Regions from separate parts of the Homo sapiens genome. Here region 2 is linked to region 1. The links are contacts of gene promoters, found by promoter capture Hi-C in blood cells and fetal thymus (Javierre and others, 2016). All regions are on one chromosome and are shown on one strand. Each heading gives the region's core, a stretch centred on a gene start or on the middle of the fragment in contact. The rest is flanking DNA. Distances are from core to core; before and after follow the strand shown. Region 1 holds the start of PYHIN1 (pyrin and HIN domain family member 1). Region 2 has its middle 16 kb from the start of OR6N2.

The links. The method cuts DNA at HindIII sites, captures the fragments that hold promoters and counts their contacts. A CHiCAGO score of 5 or more calls a contact.
Region 2: a fragment that was not itself captured here is called in contact with the fragment with the promoter of PYHIN1 in region 1 in 2 of 17 cell types (non-activated CD4 T cells and total CD8 T cells); the score reaches 5.9 in non-activated CD4 T cells.

Annotation. Positions count from the first base shown.
Region 1 is chr1:158,930,302-158,932,801 of GRCh38, reverse strand. It overlaps PYHIN1 (pyrin and HIN domain family member 1), which reads right to left and starts at 1,250. Exons shown (of 9, transcript NM_152501.5): 1 at 1,026-1,250. The HindIII fragment of the contact is 3,309 bases long and covers 731-2,500 here.
Region 2 is chr1:158,795,441-158,799,785 of GRCh38, reverse strand. It overlaps a transcript of OR6N1 not described here and the pseudogene OR2AQ1P. Among named protein-coding and RNA genes, the nearest start is that of OR6N2, 16 kb to the right of the region's middle. The HindIII fragment of the contact is 2,912 bases long and covers 568-3,479 here.

The sequences.
Region 1 (2,500 bases), core at 1-2,500:
GCAGGAAGTAATCTTAAAATGAATAAAAAACTGCCTTTCACATCTGGTATAGAATGATGCTAATGTAAAAGTTAAACATACTTATGAAAATATTGACACATTTGAATTATTTGAATTATTTGAATAATTGTGTTTGCAAAATGGATACATTTTCTACTATGTGTTTGCACTTGTAGAATAATATTATTTACAAAATGTTCTCACATATGTTTTTGTGTGAGAACATGTTTTGTAAAATTGAGATACCGTAAAATACAGCTGTATGTCTAGATGTGTTTTTTACTTAATATTATTTCCTGATACTTTGTGCACATCATTATCTTGTCTTATTTTATCTTCTACTTTCATTTTAGGTTCAGAGGGTACATGTGCAGGCTTGTTAAATGAGTAAACTGTGTGTCGCTGAGGCTTGTTGTCTGGTGATCCCATCACCAAGGTAGCGACATAGTACCAGATAGATAGCCTTCCAACCCACATACTGCTCCCACCTTTCCTCTCAAGCAGTCCCCAGCGTCTACCGTTCCCATCTTGTGCCCATATGGATTCAATGTTTAACTTCCACTTATAAGTGAGAACATGCAGTATTTGGTATTCCTGTGTTAGTTCACTTAGGGTAATGTTCTCTAGCCGTATCCATGTTATGCATATACAGCGTGGAATACTATGCATCCATAAAAAAGAATGAAATCATTATCTTGTCTTTTGCCCAGACCCCAATGGCCACCAAGCTTTCTAACCTCAGAGAATATATACTCAGAGAATTTGTTTTAAAATCTGCAATGGTCAAAATGCATATTCCTTCATTCATGCCCCAGTTGTAGAATAAAGGATATCTACTATCTTTGAAGTAAGTAAAGAATTGGAAGTATTAACTGCAGTTTTCACTTTTCTGAATATAGTTGATACCAGCCCTACTGCCCTCACCCCACTGCCCTGAAGAACCAATATCGATTTTTCCCTTGTGATTTTGTGGCTTTCAAGGAAGCATCTAGATCTTTTCTATAAAAAATACCCACAGTACTCACCTTACTGGGAATTTCTTCAACAGTAGTCCAGATCTTGAGATCTTCAGAAATGTAGGAAATGAGGATTGTTTTGAATAGGGAAATCAGTCAGTAAAGCTCTCAGAAACTGAAATACAGGATGTTATAATCTCCTGAAATGCTAAGAAAATGAAGTATTTTCAAAGACAACAAGGGAAAATGGCCCTTCTTAGAGTCACTTGACTAGTGCTGGCTTCCTCATACTCTGCTTTGCCCTGGGGAGAGAGAAGTTGTGAAACAACGTGCAGACTCCTCCCACCCATATTTTTTGCTTTCCATCCTGTTAGAGAAAATGAACAGTTTCTTTCCTGTAGGTATCTTAATCAAAGTAAAATTTGTATCAAAGTTATATTTAAAATTTTTTTTCTTACAAATGTTGATATCTGAATGGAGTTCCAATCTTAGAACTTTCTTAACCAGCAGACTTACATGTGGGACATTAGGGACCTCTATTCCGATGAATGATTGTCAAATATGAGAGAAGCAAGGTGGTTTCTTCTCCCTCCTTTCCTGTGCGGTTGCAGGGGGAGATCTTGGTAGGAGCATCTATTGCTACCAGTACTTTACTGCATCTCCTGCATGGGAGAATGTCTGCTATGAAATAGCAGTTGGTTTAAATACTACCTGAAGCATTCACCCAGTTATTAATAGTTGACAAACCTAGGGCTTTCCAGATCAGAAAGTTATTATGAATATATAAATCCTTTCTCAAATATATATAAAGGAGTTTAACACTAGCTGTCCTCTTGACTATGACTAGGTTATTTTACCTCAATGATTACATTCATGATTCCTCAGGTTTCCTTCATTATTCATGGAAAAACACAAGTGGATAGTGGGCTCACAACATGACAGCATCGAAGCCTTGAAAATCCTGGAAAATGCACTGAACTTCTGGTAGACCGAGAGTCCTGTTAAACCCTTTGCTCAGCAGTATTTTTTCTGTTAAGGGCAGTGGGTGTCCTTCAGAGTACTAAAACCCCAAGATGTCAAATAAACGACACCAACTGGCAGATGATGTTGTGTTAACCCAGCAGCAGATCTGCAAGCAGGATGTGGCCATGAGTGGAAAATGGGGCCCGAAATACAGCTGTAGGGGAGAAAACAAGTTTTTTTTAAATTTCCCTTTTTAGGTTATTAGTTGACACTCTCCTGAAAACAAACGTCAAATTAACAAAAGAAAAACAAGCAGTTTATTAATGTGTGCTCTACTCATCACAAGGGATAGGCCTCAGTTCAAAAGTATTTCTCTCTCCAGGCTGTGGCTTAGAAACCTTGTTTAAATAGTATTTCAATAAAGAGCCATACGTTCTATATAGTGAAAAGCAAAGGAGAAAGCAGTTCCAGTCATTTAAAAGGTGGGAAAACGTGGGAAGGTAGTAAAATCTGTTCCCAGATTCCTCAGGTTCCTGGTGGCGCCTTCTCCGGGCTGAAAAGCAAGTGCTTTCTCCAGTAAA
Region 2 (4,345 bases), core at 774-3,273, 130 kb after region 1:
CAGTCTCAATTTTCCTTTCCAGAAGTAAGTTTGGGTTTCATACTACACAAACCATCCCATGATGTCGCTTAATTTTGTGATCCTTGATTATACAAGGATCCCTGACTACACAAACATACGATTTATAGTTGGATGTCCTTTGTCTATTTTCTCATTAAATCTCCCACAGAAGGTAAATAGATAAATGTCTTTTCAACATTAGTTAGTAGGTAGATTCTAAACTTAATCCAAAAGATTTAACTTTCATTTAAAAACCAAGAGGATCTAATCATGTTGACTGAGTTTTCACCCTCCTTACCATCCCTGACAACTGTGGGTTTTTAGAACATATATGATCCCACAAGTCAGCCTACATATGACCTTTCACTTGAATGACCTTCTACTTAAACGTAGGCTAGAGAGAGAAAATCCTTTTAAACACGATTTATATGAGCCTGCAGAGTAATTATTGGGAAGGTATTTTTTGTCTATGTTTATTAAGGTCTAAACGTAATGCCAATATTTTATGGGTACGTTCGTCATTTCTTTGGCTAACGTGGTGAACAAATCATACAGTCTTTTTAAGCTTTCTCCAAACATTGACTAGGTGTGAGATAAATGGGGATCAAGTCACCTGGAATCTTCTCAGGTAAAAACTTTAGCAATAGAAAAAGATTTTTATTTTAATGAGAAGGTCTATTTCAGATCAACTAAATTAGATACTTTGAAAGTGGGGTCTAGTAATTGGTGTTTTAATAACTTCAGGATGTTATGCATGCAAGTTAAAGTCTGAGAACCAGCCGTCTACTCCAATTGGTGGGACTGGAAGGGGGAACTGGGCATATGTAGCACAGTTCTTTCCTGTGCTCTTCTCCCAGGGAGCCAGCCTGCCCGGTTTGTGTGTTCTGCTCTGCTTTCTGCCATGCAGTGGAAGGAGGTCTGTGGCTTTCCATGCTGCACAGTAATCACGTAAAAGCACTGTAAGGAAAATTAACACGCCCACTATCAGAGTAAGACATTTGAAATCTCTCCCCTTAGGAATAAAAACACCAGGCAAATAAATCATAAGTATATATATAAATTATTTGTAGAATAATTAACAAGGTCCACCTACTGGAGGCACATGGAATAAAGATTGATTTCAAGCACAGTGGAATTAAACAAATGCTTGGCCATAAAACAAGTGTCAATACAGTTAATAGAATTAATAATATTAATATAATATAGACCTCTGCTTCTACTAGTGATATAAATAAATTAGAAATAAATAAATGATAAATTTCACATGTCCATATGTTTGATATTTAAAGAAAATACTTCCATACAACTTACTCTCAGAAGTATCATAGGAAAAGTAGAAAACATCTATATCTGAACAATAACAAAAAGTATAATTTCAAAATATTTGGGAAAAAGTGCTTTTTAGAAGTTTATAGCCTTAAATTTAATATTATTTAAAAAGTATAAAATTAATTAACTAAGCATTCAAGTTTAAAAATTAGAAAAATAATGTTAGGGCAAAAAAAGAAAGTGTAAGAAAAAATCTGGGAGCAGAAATTAATACAATAAAAATAAATATATGACAAAAATGATATACTAATAAAAATGTTGGTTCCTAAAAATAAAAATAAACTCCTGACAAGACTAATAAAAAATAAAGGAGAGAGAGGGGCAAAAATAAGAAAGATTAAGAATGAACAATTGGCAGAATTACAGATGCATCAAAGTTTAAAGTTATAATAACATATTACTAATAATATATGCCAGTTAATTAAAATTTTAAATTGGCTGGATTCATTTCTAAAAAATTATAAATTAGAAATATCAACATCAGAATTAATATAAAATCTAAATGATATTAAATTAGAAGTTAAAAAATCACTAGAAAGAAAACATCAGTGGCAGCTTGCTTAATAAGTGAGTTCTATCTAATATTGACGAAAAACATAGTTCCTATTTTTACATTCTTCTGAGAATTAAAACACTGGCAATGCAGCTCAACAGTGCATTTTACAAAGATAGCCTAACAGTGATTCCAAAATAAATAAAACTAGTAATGTGAAAAAATAGATGATAATATCATTCATTAACATATATGCAAAAGTCTTCCTCCAAATATTCCTAAGCTAAATTCAATAATCCCAGTTAAGAACAAAACAAGATTAATTACCAATATTACTTTTATTTAATATTGTACAGAAAAAATATGACTTAGGTCACCAAAATGATAGAGTAGAAGCAACCTGGCTCCACTACCCTCGATCTCATAGAAAATAAAAAACAAACAACAAAATATACACATACAGTGCAGAAATTATCACTAGCAATATCCCAGAACCCAAATAGAAGGATGAGATAGTTTCTGGGGTTGCAGAGAAGTAAAAACGCTGTGCAGAGGGTGATAGAATCGGATTTTTATAAGTATAACGCTTTCCCCCCGATTTGTCATGAACCAGGCATTTGGGAAATTTCCCCTGATTCACAGTTACTACATTGGAAAAGGTAAGTTCAAGATGGACAGCCAGCTTTCTCAACATCTTGGGTTTCCTGGCAGGAGACCTGTTCCTGCCTCAACACACAGAAAGGTGCACAAGTACTTGAATGGAGAAAAATTCCTGAAGAATGACAGAGACAAAGGGGGCAGGTGGGGCTAGCAGCATCCCCAGCCTGGGAAACTCTCTGTATCTTGGCTGAAGGAGTTGCCAAATTAGAGTGTTCAGTAGAACCTCACTGTAGGAGGTATGTTCTGTTAGTCTCTTGGGCACAAAATCCTAGACAGCTTTCCCATTCTGCTGCATTATCCCCTTTGGGACCTCCCCCATCCTGGACAGGCAGCACTCTGAACACCTGCTAAAACAGAGGTAAACCTGGACTTAGTTGCCACTTAGTGCTGAAAAGGAGGCAGTGACCTACAAAAAAAAAAAAAAGGTAAGTTGTAAAGAAAACGCTAAGCAAACATATCCAATAAAAACAAAAATATATCAGATAAAGGAGACTGGAATAAATAATTTTTCAATTTAAAGACAAATGTACATACACAAACAGAAAATCATGAGCTCCCCAAATTGACAAAGCAAGGAACCAGTAACCAACACTAATAAGACAGCAATAGGGAAGTTCCCTGATTAAGAATAAAGAGAAGTTTTAATAAAACTCAAAGATATTCAAAATAATACAAAAAAGCAATTTAGAAATGTATCAGAAAATTTTAACAAAGAAATTGAAATAGTGAGAAACAAATCAAATAGGAACCCTGGAAATTAGAAGTATATTTGCTAAACTGTAAAATTCTTTAGAGGCTCTCAACAGCGGAATGGATCAGGCAGAGGAAAGAACCAGTGAGCTCAATGACAGGGTGTTGGAAAATACACAGTCAGAGAAGAAAAAAGAATGAAACTAAATGAAGGAAGCCTACAAGACATAGAAAATTACCTCAGAGGAGCAAATCTAAAAAACTGAAGTTCAAGAGGGAGCTGAGCATGAGCAAAGAATAGAAAGCTTAACAAAAAGATAACTGATGTACTTTTAAGGTACCAAATAAGACCCCTCCAGGTTGCCCATGATTATGGAAAACTCTGAAGCATACTAGGTCCTTGAGCTGTCCCTTTGACTCTAAGTACTTTCCAAGAAGCCCCTTTTACATCCTTGTTCCTGAGGCTGGAGATGATGGGTTTTATGAAGGCAGAGACAATGCTGTAGAACAGCACCAACTGTTTTCCCACTGTAGGTTATACTAGGAGTCAGACCTCAAGTACGTGATCATGGCGGGCCCTTAGAACATGGTGACCACACTTTTACTTTTTTTCCATGATGGCAGGTTGAAGGCATTGTTAACGTGATTCTACCACTTAGAAAGACAAAATGGTGTGTAGAGATTCATGCTGTGGACTTTTTTCCAAGAAGCAGCACAGGAACTTAACAGGAAAACTGAAAGAAGCCGCAAACTCTGTGAAAGAAGTAGTGTGCAGCAGCCTACACTGTGAACCAGACAGAAAACTGAGTCTCCAGAGCATAAGAAGTGGGGAGACCGCTGTCATGACACACATTCCCACAGTGGGGAGACTGTTGCCATAACACACATTCCCAGAGGGGAGCTGGGCAATCCAGGCCATGGGGGAAGGCCTTATCCCTACTCAATGCTGGGGCTGATTTAGGGAGCAGTGGGCAAAATATGAGAAGGAACAACATGGGGACATACTTTGCATGCACTCCCAGATGCCACTGGAGATGGAGGGAAGCCATTCCTGATCCTACCTCACAAGGGACCTTGCAGAAGTCTACTGGCATCAGGCAGTGGTCACAGGTTGAGAGAAGCTCTCAACTGAGATTTGCAGTATAATCTGAGTAGGGGTGAACCACAGTGGCC